Linked DNA regions of Homo sapiens: region 1 is linked to region 2. Evidence: promoter capture Hi-C in 16 types of primary human blood cells and fetal thymus (Javierre and others, 2016). All regions are on one chromosome and are shown on one strand. Each heading gives the region's core, a stretch centred on a gene start or on the middle of the fragment in contact. The rest is flanking DNA. Distances are from core to core; before and after follow the strand shown.

The links. Contacts are between HindIII fragments. The CHiCAGO score rates a contact against its expected background, and 5 or more counts as called.
Region 1: a contact is called between a fragment that was not itself captured here and the fragment with the promoter of LTO1 in region 2, in 2 of 17 cell types (endothelial precursors and M1 macrophages). The highest score is 8.1, in endothelial precursors.

Annotation. Positions count from the first base shown.
Region 1 is chr11:69,160,266-69,163,757 of GRCh38, reverse strand. SMIM38 (small integral membrane protein 38) reads right to left here. Exons shown (of 3, transcript NM_001369201.2): 3 at 1,318-3,492. The region is part of intron 2 of LOC338694 (a long non-coding RNA gene); the gene reads left to right. Among named protein-coding and RNA genes, the nearest start is that of SMIM38, 6.1 kb to the right of the region's middle. The HindIII fragment of the contact is 8,605 bases long and covers 1-3,492 here.
Region 2 is chr11:69,674,102-69,677,756 of GRCh38, reverse strand. It overlaps LTO1 (LTO1 maturation factor of ABCE1), which reads left to right and starts at 2,404. Exons shown (of 5, transcript NM_153451.3): 1 at 2,404-2,567. The coding sequence starts at 2,518. RefSeq lists enhancers at 2,043-2,242, 2,112-2,612 and a silencer at 2,733-2,822. The HindIII fragment of the contact is 5,284 bases long and covers 859-3,655 here.

The DNA of each region.
Region 1 (3,492 bases), core at 991-3,490, 510 kb after region 2:
ATGCTTTTTTTTTTTTTTTTTAAGGAAAGTCGACTTTGACAACTTTCTATTTCTTCTATGGTAATCAATTTGTTTAGACTTTACATCTCTTTTGGAGTCTTTTTTAAAATAAATTATATTTTCTATGTTTTCAAAGTCTCAAAATCTTTTATGTATCCCAGTGCCAGTTTCCTGTGGTTATTTGCCATTTTATGTCTCTGCGGTTGTTTTCCCCATAGACTTTTATTTCATTTATGTTTTCTTCTTTTTTCTTGATAGGATTGACTAACAGCATCCTTTTTTATGCCCCTGAAAAATCTGGCACTTGGGTACATTTGTTAATTCTATTGCTTCTTAATGCATATATTTCCTCTCTTATCTTTATTTCTTCCTTCTGTTTTTCTTAGTTTTTTCTATTATGTTCAATATATTGAGCCATATGCCTAATCCATATGTTTTCATTCTTTCTATTGGTTAATATGAATATTTAAGGCTATAACTTTCCCTTCAAGAATTGCTTTAGCTGCATCTCATAGGTTCTGGTTTGCAGTCCAAACATTATCACTCAACCCATTTATGCCTAGTGTTCCATTATTGGAATGCTGAGCATGTGGGAGTTATTTATATATCCTACTGCTCAAGGTCATCACCAAGGTCTGATTGCAAAAATTTAAAAAACGGCAACCTCAGGCATAAATGGACTAAGAACCTCCTCCAAGAAGCTCCCTCCTGCGTTCCTGTAACACACCATGCATTCACCCGCCACCCTTTTACTGCATTATGAAGGTCCAGCACAGCACTGTCCATAACAAAAATAATATAAGCTACCTATGTGATTTTAAATTTCCTACTAGCCATATTAAGACCTATTAAAAGGAATAGGTGAATCAACCTAAATGCCCATCAATGGTAGACTGGATAAGGAAAAAGTGGTACATATACACCATGGGATACTATTCAGCCATAAAAAAGAATAAGATCATGTCCTTTGCAGGAACATGGGTGGAGCTGGAGGCCATTGTCCATAGCAAACTAACACAGGAACAGACAACCAAATACCACATGTTCTCACTTGTGAGAACACATGGTCACATAAAGGGGAACAACAAACACTGGGGCCTACTTGAGGGTGGAAGGTGGGAGGAGGGAGAGGATCAGATAAAATAATTCTTGGGTACTAAGTTTAGTACTCAGGTGACAAAGAATCTGTACACCAAACCCCCATGAGTTTACCTGTATAACAAACATGCACATGTACCACTGAATCTAAAATAAAAGTTAAAAGTTAAATAAAATATCATGGCCAATAAGTAATGAAAATAAAAGAAACAGGCGAAATCAAATTTAATATTTTATTTAACCCAATCTGTCCAAAATAGTATTATTTCAATGCGTAATCAATATAAAACCATTACTAATGAGATTTTACATTATTTTTCTGTGCCAAGTCTTCAATAGCCAGTACGCATTTTACTTACATCATATCGCAATTTGTGGTGGCATTTTTACTGTTCAATAACCACACATGCTTAGTGCAGGTCTAATATCTGTTTCCAGGTCTCTCTGCCCACTACCCTTACCTCCCTGACTGCAAGCTACCTGAGGGCAGGTGCTTTGCCTTATTCAACATTGTATCTGTGGTGCCTTGAATACTGCAAGCACTCAATGAATGCTTGCTGACTGCTTGCAGACAGGGTGGCTCAAACAGCAGACATCTATGTTCTCACAGTTTTGAAGGGTGGAGTCGGCTGGTTCTTCCTGAGTCCTCTCATCTTGGCTTGTACGTGGCCATTTTCTCCCTGTGTCCTCACCTGGCTCTGTGTGTGTGTGTGTGTCTGGGTCCTAATCTCCTCCTCTGATTAGGACACCCATCCTTTGGATTAGGGCTCACCCTAATGACCTTATTTTAACTTTATTCCCTCTGTAAAGACCATATCTTCAAACACAGTCTCTTTCTGAAGTATTAGGCATTAAAGGTTCAACATATGAATTGGGGGGAAGACATTCCAGCCCTAACACTATCCTTTTATGCCTTTTATACATCTGCTGTCCATCATCATTATTCATTTATCCATCAATTCTTCACTGTCTCCGTTCCATGGGCTACGGTTTACATCTGTGGCTACCAGCTGTGAGCAGAGGCATGTTCCCATGTGTCTCTAAGAAGGAGCATGTCTGTCTCAGCCTTGGACTTCCTTATTAAAACATTTTCTTAGGAGGCCCCAAGGAGCCATGGGGAGCCATGGAAATCTCCAACCTCTGACTCCAGATTGGAGCAGCCAAGGACAGCTTGACTCAGCTGCTATTCCTGAAGGGCAGACAACAGCAAAACCAGCACATAAGGGTACCACAAAGGTGCCCAAATATCCAAAATAGGGTCCAAGACAAAGACCATCATTACAAAGAATGGCCAAGGGGCCCGTGGCAGAGACCACCCAGTTGCCTGCCTGATCGCCATTTTGCCTCTGTTTCTTTATAACAAACTTGGCATTCAGGATGGCTAGGAGACCAGCTAACAAACGCCACTATCTCTCAGCCTCCTGTGCATCCAGGGATGCCACGTGACATCATTCTGGCTTATGAGATGGAAAACTAAGGGTATCTGGGGACATTGCTTTCTGTCTCTGTCACCCTTTCCTTTCTCTTCCTGCCTGGAACTCGTGTAAGATGCCTGCAGTAGCAGCAGGTTTCTTGTAGCCGTGAAGATCAAATCTACATGCTGAGGGTAGCAGAGCAGAAATATGTCAGGGTCTGAGACCCTGATAACTTCACAAAGCTGTCACGCCACAGCCTGGGAATGCCAAATGCCAGACTTCTTGCTACGTGAAGAAAGAAAAACAAAATACTTTTAAAGCCTCTCTTTTTTAAGCCACTGTTTGTCTACGTGTCTGTTACCTGCAGCTGAATGCATCTGCTGCCTGAGATACGGCCAGGGCACACCCTCTCATTCATTCAGATGCCATGGCCTGATTGCCTGTTCTGAGCCAGGCACTGCGTCACAAGGCTGGAGATGCTGACACGTGGATGCAGAATACATGAATTCATCAGAATTGTGTCCATTTTCCAGGAACAGAAACCAATGAAACAGACTTAAGAAAAAGAAAAGAAATTATGGACCAGTGTAACTGAGATAGGGAGTCGGAGGAGGTTGGCAGAATCTTCCCTTCCACCATTTTTCCAGGTGGCTGTGTTCTCATGGGGCCGCCTTGAGCGTCTGTCCTCCCTGCCAGGCAGTCCCAGTAGAGGAGTCTGTTCTGACCCCTGGCTCCAGCAGAAGTCCCAGGATTCTGAGGCCGGGCATGGTAGCTCATGCCTGTAACCCCAGCATTTCGGGAGGCCAAGGCAGGCAGATCACTTGAGGTCAGGAGTTCAAGACCAGCCTGGCCAATATAGTGAAACACCATCTCTACTAAAAAATACAAAAATCAGCAGGGCGTGGTGGCACACGCCTATAATCCCAGCTACTCGGGAGGCTGAGGCAGGAGAATTGCTTGAGCCCCAGAGGCGGAGGTT
Region 2 (3,655 bases), core at 1,155-3,654:
AATTTTGTTTCTTATCACTTTTGGTACACACAAGTTTGCATTTTTACATGGTAAAATGTTGGTTTTGCTTGCTGAGAATTCCTTCATGGCTTTTATGTGTTAAAAGAGCATCTTCATACTTGTCTGAATGTTCCACCTAGATTTTTTAATGTACTTTATTTTATTTATTTATTTATTTATTTTTATTTTATTTTATTTTTTTTGAGATAGAGTCTCGCTCTGTCACCCAGGCTGGAGTAGAGTAGCGCGATCTCGGCTCATTGCAAGCTCCACTTCCCAGGTTCATGCCATTCTCCTGCCTCAGCCTCCCAAGTAGCTGGGACTACAGGTACACGTCACCATGCCCCACTAATTTTTTTTTTTTGTATTTTTTGGTAGAGACGGGGTTTCACCATGTTAGCCAGGATGGTCTCGATCTCCTGACCTCATGATCCGCCCGCCTCGGCCTCCCAAAGTGCTGGGATTACAGGCAAAATGTGCTTTATTCATTTATTTATTTAGAGATGGAGTTTTGCTCTTGTTGCCCAGGCTGGGGTGCAATGGTGTGATCTCGGCTCACTGCAACCTCTGTCTCCTGGGTTCTCCTGCCTCAGCCTCCCGAGTAGCTGGGCTTACAGGCATGCACCACCACGCCAGGCTAATTTTGTAGTTTTAGTACAGACGGGGTTTCTCCATGTTGGTCAGGCTGGTCTCGAACTCCCTAACTCTGGTTATCCACCTGCCTGGGCCTCCCAAAGTGCTGGGATTACAGGCGTGAGCCACCGTGCCCAGCCAATGTGCTTAATTTTTTTAAGTTAACTCTTTAACTCATCTGGAATTATTTTGATGAATGGTGTGAGGCATAAATGGAACCAAGCTTTTCCCAAACAACCAATTTTCCATTATAGTTATTAGTTAATATTTCCTTTCTCCAATTAATTTGTAATTCTTCTTTTTACCACATGAGAAGGCTTTACATCTATGAGAGTCCATTGTCTGGGCCATTTACTTTATTTCACTGGTCTGCCACTTCTTGAACCAACATACCACAATATTTATATTGACACTTTATCTTTTCATATCTGATATGAAAATCATTTTTTTCTAAAACATCTTAGTTATTTTTATTAGTTTATTCATACGGATGAAAAAGTTTAGGATTTTGACACATTTTACCAGATCTCATGGAATTTTCTTTGGTACTGCACTTGTTCAGTTCCCCAATCCTCAATCATGGTAGAGCTGTAGTTTTCCTTATATGGGTCCTGCTCAAATTGTTAGAAATTCTTATTTCTAAGAAATGTATTATGACTATCATAAGGCGATTTTCCCATCACCACCCCTGCTCAGGTTACTACCAATTATTGTTGGAATAACAGAAAGTGTTTTTTTCCCTATTCATCATACACATAGCTACTTGCTGCGATTATGGATTCTGAGAACGTCTTAGGTGACTATTTGGGTTTTCCACGTGGGCCATCATATCTGCAAATAGTAGTATTTCTGCCTTTTTTTTTTTTTTTTTTTTTTTTTGGTATTTCCACTTCTTGCTTCATGTTTTACTGCATTGGCCAGGGCTGGTAGAAAGATGTTCAGTGGTCACGTGAGGTTTTACTACTGACTTTATTAGGAATGCTTCTGGTGTTTCTCATCTGAGTTCCGTTGTCGCTTAGACTTTGAAATCCCTTTTTAAAAATCGTGTTCAGAAAGCACATCTCATGGAAATGACAAATATGAGAACTAAAACCGACAAATTTCTGCCCAAAATCCCACATGCAGAGCCTCCTGGCCTGGAGCCTCCTGAGGCGTCGGTTCTTTGATGACTTCCCATTTCTTTTCCCTTTTTTTTTTTTTTTTTGACGGAGTCTGGCTCTGTCGCCAGTCTGGAGTGCAGTGGTGCGATCTCGGCTCACTGCAACCTCCGCCTCCCAGCTTCCAGTGATTCTCCTGCCTCAGCCTCCCGAGTAGCTGGGATTACAGGCGCCTGCCACCATGCCCGGCTAATTTTTGTATTTTCAGTAAAGACGAGGTTTCACCATGTTGGCCAGGCTGGTCTCGAACTCCCGAACTCAGGTGATCCGCGCGCCTCGGCCTCCCAAAGTGCTGGGATGACAGGCGTGAGCCACCGCGCCAGCTGATGACTTCCCATTTCTTCCTTGGTTCTTTCGGAGCCACTTTGGGAAATTCGGTTCTATCTGCAGTGGTAAAATACAGGTCGGCTCTCCACGCGCGCGGCCAATGGACGCTCCCAGCGCGGACAGACAGGCCCTTTGCTGGAGCTGGGCAGGGCGAAAGGACCCCAGGGCGGGGCTTCAGTCGAGGCCGGCCCCGCCCACCGCTGCAGCCGCGCATGCGCCATGTACAGGCTGCTTTGGGCCCTCCCGCGTGCCGTTCTTACCCGGCCTGCCCCGCGCCGCCGCTTCCGGAAGTGGGTCTCGTCTCCTCCCAAGCGGAGCATTTGTGCCTGAAGCTGCCGGGTCTGCTACGGCACCGCGGGGCTGCAGAAACCCGGGGGCCAAGGGCGGGCTGCTTGCCGCTATGGCTGGCAGTCAGGACATATTCGATGCCATCGTGATGGCGGATGAGAGGTGGGTGGTGAGGCCGGGCCCGCACCCCGCCCTGTCTGGTCGTCTCCCAGCGGCTTCGCCGCCGGCTGCGGCCCAGGGCGGCTGCTGGAGCCTGGCGTCCCTTGGGCGTGCGCATTGGGGAGCGCCTGGTGGCCGTGGACGCAGGGACAAGTGTGGGCCTGATGCTCTGGTCCTCTTCTCCTGGCCCGCTCCGGCGGGGCACGTGCCCAGCTGCTCTTCCAGACCCGCCTTCCCTGTCAGGGCTGCCCCAAACATCTGCTCAGCCTGGTGGTTCCCCTCCTCCGAGGCCGCCTCGTCCTCTGGGAGGACAGACCTTTGCCATCTGGGAGCTGCCTTTTTTTCTGGTTCCTTAATCATAGGACATACGGCAGTATTCATGGATGTGCTGATAGATGTACCCGACCACACCCCTTTTCCCTCCAGAGCCCCTGGGGAGCCCCTCGTGCTGCGACAGTGGGGGAGCTGTGAGTTGCCTCCTGGCTGACTTCCAGTGCCCGGCCCAGAGGACGCGTCCATAGATGTTAGTTAAGAAAGCGGCCGAACATTTAGCAGTCAGGCGCTGACGTTTATTTAGCTCGCGCTGTGAGTCAGACACTGAGCTAAACGTTCCACCCTGGTTATCTACTTCAGCCCTACTTAGTAAGTGGATCCTATTATTCTTCGGAATTTACAGACTAGGAGGCACAGTCACTTTCCAGGGTCACACAACTATTAAGTGGGGAGCTATGCACCCTGCTTCATGGGGCGCTGCAGCCCACTCCTTGCATGTTTGGTGACTGCAGGTTAAGATAGTGGCAGTTCCACTGTTGGGCCTCAGGGTCAGTGCTACTCCGGGTACCAGTCGGAGAACATTTTGTGGTGATCTGATGCCATTTCTCTCTGTTGCCCTACCCATGTGATGTCAAACCCTGTGTATGTTGCAGTTTTTTGGAAGCGGTTGACTTGGGCTAGTGCTACTTGAACACTCACAGAACTTTGGCCCCCTAACTCTGGCTGCAAACCAGACTTATCTAGGAGACTTTGAAAAGTAGATTCCGGGCCAGATGCGGTGGCTGACGCCTGTAATCCCAGCACTTTGGGAGGCCGAG